Linked DNA regions of Homo sapiens: region 2 is linked to region 1. Evidence: promoter capture Hi-C in 16 types of primary human blood cells and fetal thymus (Javierre and others, 2016). All regions are on one chromosome and are shown on one strand. The core of a region is centred on a gene start or on the middle of the fragment in contact, and the rest is flanking DNA. Distances in the headings are between cores, read along the strand shown. Region 1 holds the start of GMEB1 (glucocorticoid modulatory element binding protein 1). Region 2 overlaps MECR (mitochondrial trans-2-enoyl-CoA reductase).

Evidence for each region. The method cuts DNA at HindIII sites, captures the fragments that hold promoters and counts their contacts. A CHiCAGO score of 5 or more calls a contact.
Region 2: a contact is called between a fragment that was not itself captured here and the fragment with the promoter of GMEB1 in region 1, in 1 of 17 cell types (neutrophils). The highest score is 5.1, in neutrophils.

What each region holds. Positions count from the first base shown.
Region 1 is chr1:28,665,977-28,670,603 of GRCh38, forward strand. GMEB1 (glucocorticoid modulatory element binding protein 1) reads left to right here and starts at 2,808. Exons shown (of 10, transcript NM_001319674.2): 1 at 2,808-2,863. RefSeq lists silencers at 2,780-2,919, 2,950-3,059, 3,070-3,359 and enhancers at 3,890-3,939, 3,990-4,049. The HindIII fragment of the contact is 26,935 bases long and covers 1-4,627 here.
Region 2 is chr1:29,206,288-29,210,914 of GRCh38, forward strand. It overlaps MECR (mitochondrial trans-2-enoyl-CoA reductase), which reads right to left. Exons shown (of 10, transcript NM_016011.5): 4 at 475-618. Among named protein-coding and RNA genes, the nearest start is that of MECR, 22 kb to the right of the region's middle. RefSeq lists enhancers at 2,932-3,433, 4,202-4,321. The HindIII fragment of the contact is 905 bases long and covers 2,219-3,123 here.

The sequences.
Region 1 (4,627 bases), core at 1,558-4,057:
GGAGAATCCCTTGAACTCAGAAGGTAGAGGCTGCAGTGAGCTGAGATTGTAGGGCCACTGCACTCCAGCCTGGCGACAGAGCGAGACCCCATCTCAAAAAAAAAAAAAAAAAAATCAGTTATCATCCAGGCACGGTGGCCCACGACTATAATTCCAGCACTTTGGGAGGCCGAGGTGGGTGGATCACTTGAGCTCAGGAATTTGAGACCAGCCTTGGTAACATGGTGAAACCCCAGCTCTATGAAAAATACAAAAAGGAGCTGGGCGTGGTTGTGCAAGCCTATAGTCTCAGCTACTCGGGAAGTCAAGATTGGAGGATCACTTGTGCCCAGGAGGAGACTCTATCCTCCAAAATAACTAAATAAAAATAAATGGCCAGGCACGGTGGCTCACGCCTGTAATGCCAGCACTTTGGGAGACTGAGGCAGGAGGATCACGAGGTCAAGAGATTGAGACCATCCTGGCCAACATGGTGAAACCCTGTCTCTACCAGAAATACAAAAATTGGCTGGGCGCGATGGCTCATGCCTGTAATCCCAGCACTTTGGGAGGCCAAGGCAGCAGATCATGAGGTCAAGAGATCGAGATCATCCTGGCCAACACGGTGAAACCCCGTCTCTACTAAAAATACAAAAAATTAACCAGGCGTGGTGGCTCGTGCTTGTAGTCCCAGCTACTCGGGAGGCTGAGGCAGGAGAATCGCTTTAACCTGGGAGGCAGCCAAGATCGCACCACTGCACAGACCGAGACTCCGTCTCCAAATCAATCAATCAATAAACAAACAATTATGGTGGCTCACACCTGTAATCCCAGCACTTTGGGAGGCCAAGGCAGGAGGATTGCTTGAGCCCAGGAGTTAGAGACCAGAGTGGGCAACATGGTAAAACCCCATTTCTACTAAAAATGTAAAAATTAGCCAGGCATGGTGGTTCCTGCTTGTGGTCCCAGCTACTCCGGGGGCTGAGGCAGGAGGACTGCTTGAGCACTGGAGGCTGGGGCTGCAGTGAGCCGAGATCCCGCCACTGCACTCAGCCTGGGAGATCAACCCAGACCGGTCCCCCCCACCAAAAAAAAGAAAAAAAGAAAGAAAAGAAAAGAAGGGCCGGGCGCGGTGGCTCACGCCTGTAATTCAACACTTTGGGAGGCTGAGGCGGACGGATCACAAGGTCAGGAGATCGAGACCATCCTAGCTAAGACGGTGAAACCCTGTCTCTACTAAAAAATACAAAAAAATTAGCCAGGCGTAGTGGCGGACGCCTGTAGTCCTAGCTACTGAGGAGACTGAGGCAGGAGAATGGTGTGAACCCAGGAGGCGGAGCTTGCAGTGAGCCGAGATTGCGCCACTGCACTCCGGCCTGGGCGACAGAGCAAGACTCCGTCTCAAAAAAAAAAAAAAAGAGAAACTTACTTAGTAGGGTTGCTGTGAGGATTATACAAGACAGAAGCATCTTCACCAAGCCATAGGCCATAGAAAGGTCTTTTTGTTTGTTTGTTTTTTGAGATAGAGTCTCACTCTGTTGCCCAGGCTGGAGTGCAATGGCCTGATCTCGGCTCACTGCAACCTCCGCCTCCCGGGTTCAAGTGATTCTCCTGGCTCAGCCTTCTGAGTAGCTGGGACTAGAGGCGCGTGCCACGACGCCCGGCTAATTTCTGTATTTTTAGTAGAGACGGGGTTTCACCATGTTGCCCAGGCTGGTCTCGAACTCCTGGTCTCAAGTGATCTGTCCGCCTCGGCTTCCCAAAGTGTGGGATTACAGGCGTAAGCCACCACACCTGGCCATAGAAAGGTCTTAATACGGCCGGGCGCGGTGGCTCACGCCTGTAATCCCAGCTCTTTGGGAGGCCCAGGCGGGTGGATCATGAGGTCAGATATTGAGACCATCCTGGCCAACATGGTGAAATCCTGTCTTTACTAAAATACAAAAAAAAAAAAAAATTGCCGGGCGTGGTGTCGCGCGCCTCTAGTGCCAGCTCTTCGGGAGGCTGAGGCCGGAGAATCACTTGAACCCAGGAGGCTGAAGCTGCAGTGAGCCGAGATCGCGCCACTGCACTCCAGCCTGGCCAAAGAGCAAGACTCTGTCTAAAAAAATAAATAAATAAATAAAAAATAAAGGTCTTAATACTTGTTAATTACTATTACTGACCCCAGGAACTCTCTGAAGCACTTTTCATGCAGGTATCACCTTCTTTAGCACTCACATTATGTCTTATCGGAAACAGGTTTAGAGCTGTCAAGAAATTCCTCCAGAGTCGTTTACACTTCCAGCAGGGGAGTCAAGACTTCAACCCAGAAACTCACAAGCAGGAAAAACTTGGCAAACAGGCACGGGTCAGACAATGCTTAGGGCTTGCTCAAGGACTCGTGACCAGTTACTGATCTATGCAGATCTTCTGATTGCAAACTGATAGCTGGATTGTAACTTGAAGGGTCCGATAAGATGTAAACTTCATAAAACAGGATTTGGGGAGGTAAATGGAGTAGAGTCCTCCAGAGGAGTCGAGAAAGCTAGCTTGGCCCTCAATTGTGGTTGAGGTGATTCTTTCATTTAGGGCCTATTTTCCTCATCTATGAGTGCGGGAAGGAGAGTTACTGGGGTCTCTAGCGACCTTTCCAACACTGATTTTCAAGGGCGAAAGAATTCTGCTTAGGTAAGGCCCAAATCCCTTGGCTAAGGTTAATCCTCGGTGGGACCGGCAATAGGGACGCGTCCCCTTTAAGGCGCCAGCTCTCCGGCGGCGGCGGCCGGAAGTGTTGAAGCCCGGCCTGGCGGCGGCGGTGGCGGTAGCTGCCGTGGCGGCCTCTGCGCATGCTCCGTCGCCTGCCCGCCCTGGCCGCTCGCCGCCCGCCCGCCCGACGGAGACGGTGAGGAGGGGGAGGGGTGGGCGCGCGGGCGCGGGGTGGGGTGGGGGCGGGGGGGCGGGCGCGGGGGCCGCGCGGCGGCCGGCGAGGGCGGGCGGGCGCGCAGGGGGCGGGGGGCTGCTGCCTCCGCGGGCGCCTCCCCACGCCCTGTGCGTGCCGCCGCCGCCGCCGGGGAGCGAGCGGACGTCGCGGCGCCGCGGGGGGGTGGGGGGACGCTGCCGCTGGGTCCGCCCGAGCCGCCGGGCCGCCCCCAGCGCAGCCGGCCGCGCCGCCGGGGCTCGGGCCCCAGACCAGGGCGGCGGGAACCGGCGAGTCCACCACTGGGGGGGCCCCGGCGCCCCCGGACCGAGGGGCCCGGAAGTACTCGGCTCAGGGGCCAGGAGGGGCCGGAGTGACTCCGGACTGAGAGGGCCAGGCGCCCAGGACCCCATCGAGGGGTCCGGGGAGCCTGGGGTATCCCCAAAGGCGGGGTCCGGGGAGCACCGGGCCCTTGGATGAGGAGCTGGTTGGAGGCCTGGGTCCTGCCCAGTGGGAGGGGGACGATAGGTGCTGGAAGCCCGGATGCCCGCCTGGGAGGAGACCCTCTCGGAGCCTTGGCGGGAGAGCAAGAGTACAGAGTGGGTTCTTCTGAGGAGAGCAGAGTCCAGCTTATCCCGAGGGGCGCGGTAGAGGCCTCGGCCACTCAGAACAAGGGAAAAAAGGGCAGGTTTTTTCCAAAGGCAGGGAAGGAAGAGGAGCTCTAAGGGGAAGTGAGCAGGCCCAGGTCTCCCCACAGATGAGCGCGTGGTAGGAAGACTCCTAGAGCCTCCTGAAGTACGAAAGAGCAGCGTCCAAACCTGAGGGGATGGAAGGTGTCTAGGTGCCTCTTGATGTCTAGGTGGAGAACAAAGTAACCCGCTCGGTCAGGGGATGGAGAAACCTATCTTTTTGAGAGAAGCAGAGATCGTTGAGGAAAGATGCTTAAGGTGTTCCCGCTTTCTGAAATGACAGGAATTGGCCAGGTGTTATCTAATTGAGGGGCAGGAGAGATGAAGGCAAAATCTCAACCCGAGGGTCTTTGGAGGATGATCCACAAGACAAGAGGGTGAAGTCTTGACCTAGACAGCAGAGCAGGCGCAGCCCTGGATTCTCTCAAGATGAGAGAAATCTCAAAACCACTTCCTAGTAGACACAGATGGGGCCTTGATTGGTGTCTGTTTAGGCCAATCAAGACGGGTTTTAGGAAAAGAGACTGTCAGACATAATTCTAGTCTTGAGGGATTATCTTCTTCCTCCTTGCCTCTTCTAATAGTTACCAAAGTGCATTTGGGGACCCTTTTTATTTATTTATTTATTTATTTGTTTTTTGAGACGGAGTCTCACTCTATCGCCCAGGCTGGAGTGGTGGCTCACTGCAACTTCCGCCTCCTGGGTTCAAACGATTCTCCTGCCTCAGCCTCCCGAGTAGCTGGGACTACAGGCGCGTGCCACCACACCAGCCAATTTTGTTGTTGTTGTTGTTGTTGTTTGAGACGGAGTTTCACTCCTGTTGCCCAGACTGGAGTGCAATGGCGCGATCTCAGCTCACTGCAACCTCCGCCTCTTGGGTTCAAGCGATTCTCCTGCCTCACCCTCCCGAGTAGCTGGGGCTACAGGCGCCCGCCACCACACCCAGCTAATTTTTGTATTTTTAATAGAGACGGGGTTTCACCATGTTGGCCAGGCTGGTCTCGAACTCCCAACCTCAGGTGATCCCACATCCTCAGCCTCCCAGAGTACTGGGATTAC
Region 2 (4,627 bases), core at 1,421-3,920, 540 kb after region 1:
GGTACCAACCTTACTGCAATGCTGTGAAGATTTCATGCACTCAACGGGGATAATGCCTGTCAACGCACTTCTGTGAACTGGAAAGTGCTATGTAAACGCTGAGTGGAATTATTAACACTAAGTTCAGCATTTTATTGAAAACATAGGGACTGTGTCTATCTTGTCTGCCTTTGTATCCCAGAGCTTAGCCCCAGCTCAACACATTTTTGCTGAATGACAGAATTCAATCCCAAGCTCTAGAGAATGTGACCCTGCAGCAGTTTTCGAGAGTGTACTCCTCATGAGGTTTCAGCATGTTTCCTAGGAACCAAGCTAACATCTTTCTAAGTGAAAGCAACAACATTCACCCAGGTGAGAGGTCCATCACCCCCTCAAAACCTCCACCTTGCAAGTTCTCCTGGCCTTGGGGTCAGGATGTGAGTGGCACCCTAGTTGCGAGACCCTGGCCTGCTCCCCCAACCTGTGGGTTCCTACCTGGCTGCAGTTGCTCGAAGTCCATCAACATCCTGTAGGCTGTGCAGGGATTGACACCCAGGGTGGCAGCGCTCTGAAGAGGGATGTCACTCGGAACTTGGATCAGTGCTTCCTCGCTGAACACAGCCTCGGTCCGCCAGGTTCCTGAGTCAGAAGATGAAGCCAGGATCATAAGGAAGGAGCCCTGTGCACATTCAACCCCAGCTCACCCTCCTTGGCCAAGAAGCATCCAGGATAGTGGGTAGCATCCACTGGAAGCATCCAGGATAGCATCCAGGATGTTTAGAAAAAGAAGAAAATCTGGACGTTCCTCTGAATGTCTGAGTCCTCATGATAATTATGCACAATAGATTGTTATTCTTTTTAATTTTTTTTTTGGAGACAGAGTCTTGCTCTGTAGCCCAGGCTGGAGTGCAATGGCGCGATCTTGGCTCACTGCAACTTCCGCCTCCTGGGTTCGTGATTCTTATGCTGCAGCCCCCTGAGTAGCTGGGATTACAGGCATGCACTACCATACATGGCTAATTTATTTATTTTTAGTAGAGACAGGGTTTTGCCTTGTTGGTCAGGCTGGTCTTGAACTCCCGGTCTCAGGTGATTCGCCTGCATCGGCTTCCCAAAGTGCTGGGATTACACACATGAGCCACTGTGCCTGGCCCAAAATAGACAGTCATTCTTATCTTAAACATGTAGTAAAAATGGGGTGTGGTGGCTCATGCCTATAATCTCAGCACTTTGGGAGGCAAGGTGGGAGGACTGCTTGAGGCCAGGAGCTCAAGACCAGCCTGGGCAACATAGTGAGACCTTGTCTCTACAGAAAAAAAAAAAAAAAAAATTAGCTGGGCATAATGCCCTGCAGTCCCGGCTTCTCATGAGGCTGAAGTGGGAAGATTGCTTGAGCCCAGTAATTTAAGGACACAGTGAGCTATGATTGTGTGACTGCACTCCAGCCTCGGTGACACAGCAAGAACCTGTCTCAAAAAAACCCAAAAAACAAAAAACAAACCAAAACAAAATATGCCAAATACCATTGTAAGGGCGATTCAGAGAGGCTGCTTCTCTGAGTTACCATTAGATTTAGTTAATGTCACCGTGCAGGTAGTTAATGACCTCAAACTGCTGCAATCTAAGGGTAAGACAGTAGTAACATTACCACCAGGGCAGGAGAAGCTGAGAAAGCCCCCTTTTTCCTACACAGTCCTCATTCTTCTCATCCAGAGCAGGTTGACTCACATGTTTTTTTTTTTTAAGATGAAGTCTTGCTCTTGTCTCCCAGGCTGGAGTGCAATGGCATGATCTCGGCTCACTGCAACCTCTGCCTCCTGGGTTCAAGCGATTCACCTGCCTCAGCCTCCCGAATAGCTGGGATTACAGGCACCTGCCACCACGCCCGGCTAATTTTTGTATTTTTAGTAGAGATGGGTTTCACCATGTTGGCCAGGCTGGTCTCGAACTCCTGACCACAGCTGATCCGCCCGCCTCGGCCTCCCAGAGTGCTGGGATTACAGGCGTGAGCCACTGCGCCCGGCCTGACTCAGGTAGTTTTAGGCAACAAAGCATAAAAGTAGAAGTCAAGAGCACAGATGCCAAACCTGGTTTTGCTATTCTGCTAGTTTGAGAAAATTCCTGTCACTGAGTTTTAGTTACTCTAATGTGTAAATAGCACAGGCAAGAACAGCCTGACTCGCCTCCTCCAGGAGCTACTGTAGAAATCAAATGAGATAAGGAAATGAAAAATTCTATAAGCTTGAAAGAAATGAGCATCAACTCCCAGCCCACATTCCAGTTCCAGACAAAAGAATTCTAGAATGTCAGTACTGAGAAGGCCCTTATCGAACATCGACTTTGAACCCCTCATGCAACAGGGGAGGAAATGAGGAAGTGACTTGCCCAGAGCCCCCTGGCTTATCTAGGCAGAGTTGGAGCTGGAACCTGGGTATCTGGGCTGCCTTCCTTCCATCTACAGATATTTATCTTGCACCCAGGCACTTGAACAATACAGACAGTTTCCTTAGTTTCATTCTAGTGGAGTCGAACAGGTGAAAAAAAGCAGATATGATAATGATAAATTATAAAGAGACAGGAACATCAAGAGAATTACTTTAGATGGGAGTCAAGGATACTTCTCTGAGGAGGTGACAGGCTAAGAGTGAAAGGATAGAGGTGCTACCGTCTCAGAGCACACAAAGAACATCTTAGGTAGGGCATGCAGCAGATGCAGAGATGCTGTAGCAGGACAAAGGACTGGGATGGGATGATGCTGCACCGCAGGGTGGAGAGTGATGGGAAGAGTGGCTTGAGACATGGCTGGCCTGGCTGATGCAGCAGGGGCCGGGCAGGTGATATTAGACTTTCAGAATTCTGACCCACAGTAACCATGAGTTCCACTGTGAATTCGTACATATACATACATGAATGTACGTGTAACACAAGCCTGTGTTTCACAGAATACTTACCCTTACTATGTGTGATACTCTGCTATTTTTCATTCTTTTCTGCTCAACTTTAATTTTAAAAAGTGCTATTTGCAACTCACTAGATTGATTTCTCGAATGGGTCACAACCTGTGGTATGAGAACATGACCTCAGCACTGTGGTATGGAGAACTGATCTTGTTTTAGTGAATGAGTGAGTGGGAAGCCTGTAACAAGCTTTAAGAGGAGACTGAGATGATCCGATGTATGCTTTAAGATCACTTTATTGCTGGGTGAAGACTGTGGAGTGGGGAGGGGCAGCGTGGAAGCCAGAGGTCTTTGTGGGGGTCGAGGTATGAGATGATGGCTGCCTAGTCTGGGACTTTGGCAGTGGGGATGAGGAACAGAAGATGGATTTGAGTTCTATTTTAAAGACAGAATCAATAGGATTTGGTGAGGACTGCGTGAGGGGTCTGCACTCACACAGGCAGGATCTTGTATGAAGAAGGGGTGAAGAGGGTAGGCTTTGGAGTCAGAGAGACTCCAGCCTTGGTTCCACAGTGTCCTCACTGTGTCACCTTAGGGAAATTGCTTGGAGCCTTGTTGGCTCAGCATCTGGTCACAGTGGCAGCTCGGGGCCCTTGGCCTATGCTTCCAAAGCTCTTGGGCATGCCTGCTCACTATCCAGTTGCTGGGATTCTAATGGTGTCCTGGTCCTATGTGGGTCAGCTGTGGGAAGCAGGGGGCAGCCTGGGTAATCACTAACTGTGCTATAGGAAACGGGGATGTCAATGTGGGCTTTAGGGACCAAGAACTGGGGACAGGAGGCAGGAACACTTTTTTTTTTTTTTTTGAGATGGAGTCTTGCTTTGTCGCTCAGGCTGGAGTGCAGTGGCACGATCTCAGCTCACTGCAAGCTCTGCCTCCAAGGCTCCCGCCATTCTCCTGCCTCAGCCTCCCAAGTAGCTGGGACTACACGTGCCCGCCACCACACCCGGCTAATTTTTTTGTATTTTTTAGTAGAGATGGGGTTTCACTGTGTTAGCCAGGATGGTCTCGATCTCCTGACCTCGTGATCCGCCCATCTTGGCCTCCCAAAGTGCTGGGATTATAGGCATGAGTCACTGTACCCGGCCCAGGAACACTTTTTATAGAAGGCTGTGTCAATCCTAGAGTAGGTCTATGGCTGAGAAAATAAGAGACTGAAAAGGCGAGGATTCCTCTGTAATCCAGGAAGTGCCCCAGCATCCTGTGGGCTTCCCCCGGACTGGCCTTCAAATCATCGTTCCCATTCATCTCAGCTAACACTTACTGTACTCTACCGTGCACCAAATGCTTAGTGCAGGGCTTTCTATGTATGAAATCCAGGGCATTTTCTAATTCCCCTTATGGCACGACAATGGAAATCCAACCCTTGATATGGATTTCTGGGGCTTAGCAGTCCCTAATCCTCTTCTCAAGAGACTCTGGGTGGGAGGGAGGCAGCACCCGTGGTCAGAGACAAGGGCTTTCAGGGTTTCAAGTAGAACTCTTAGGCTTGAAGTTGGAGAGACCTGCTTAAAAACCCTGGCTCTACCACTCACTAGTGTGTGACTTTGAATGATCACTTCACCTTTTTTGAGTTTCCATTTCCCTAATCTGTGAAATGCAGAGAGTAACACTTATGTCATAGTGTGAAGATTAAACTAAAGACATTTGTACAGAGACTATCACTATGCCTAGTACACAGTGGGTGTATA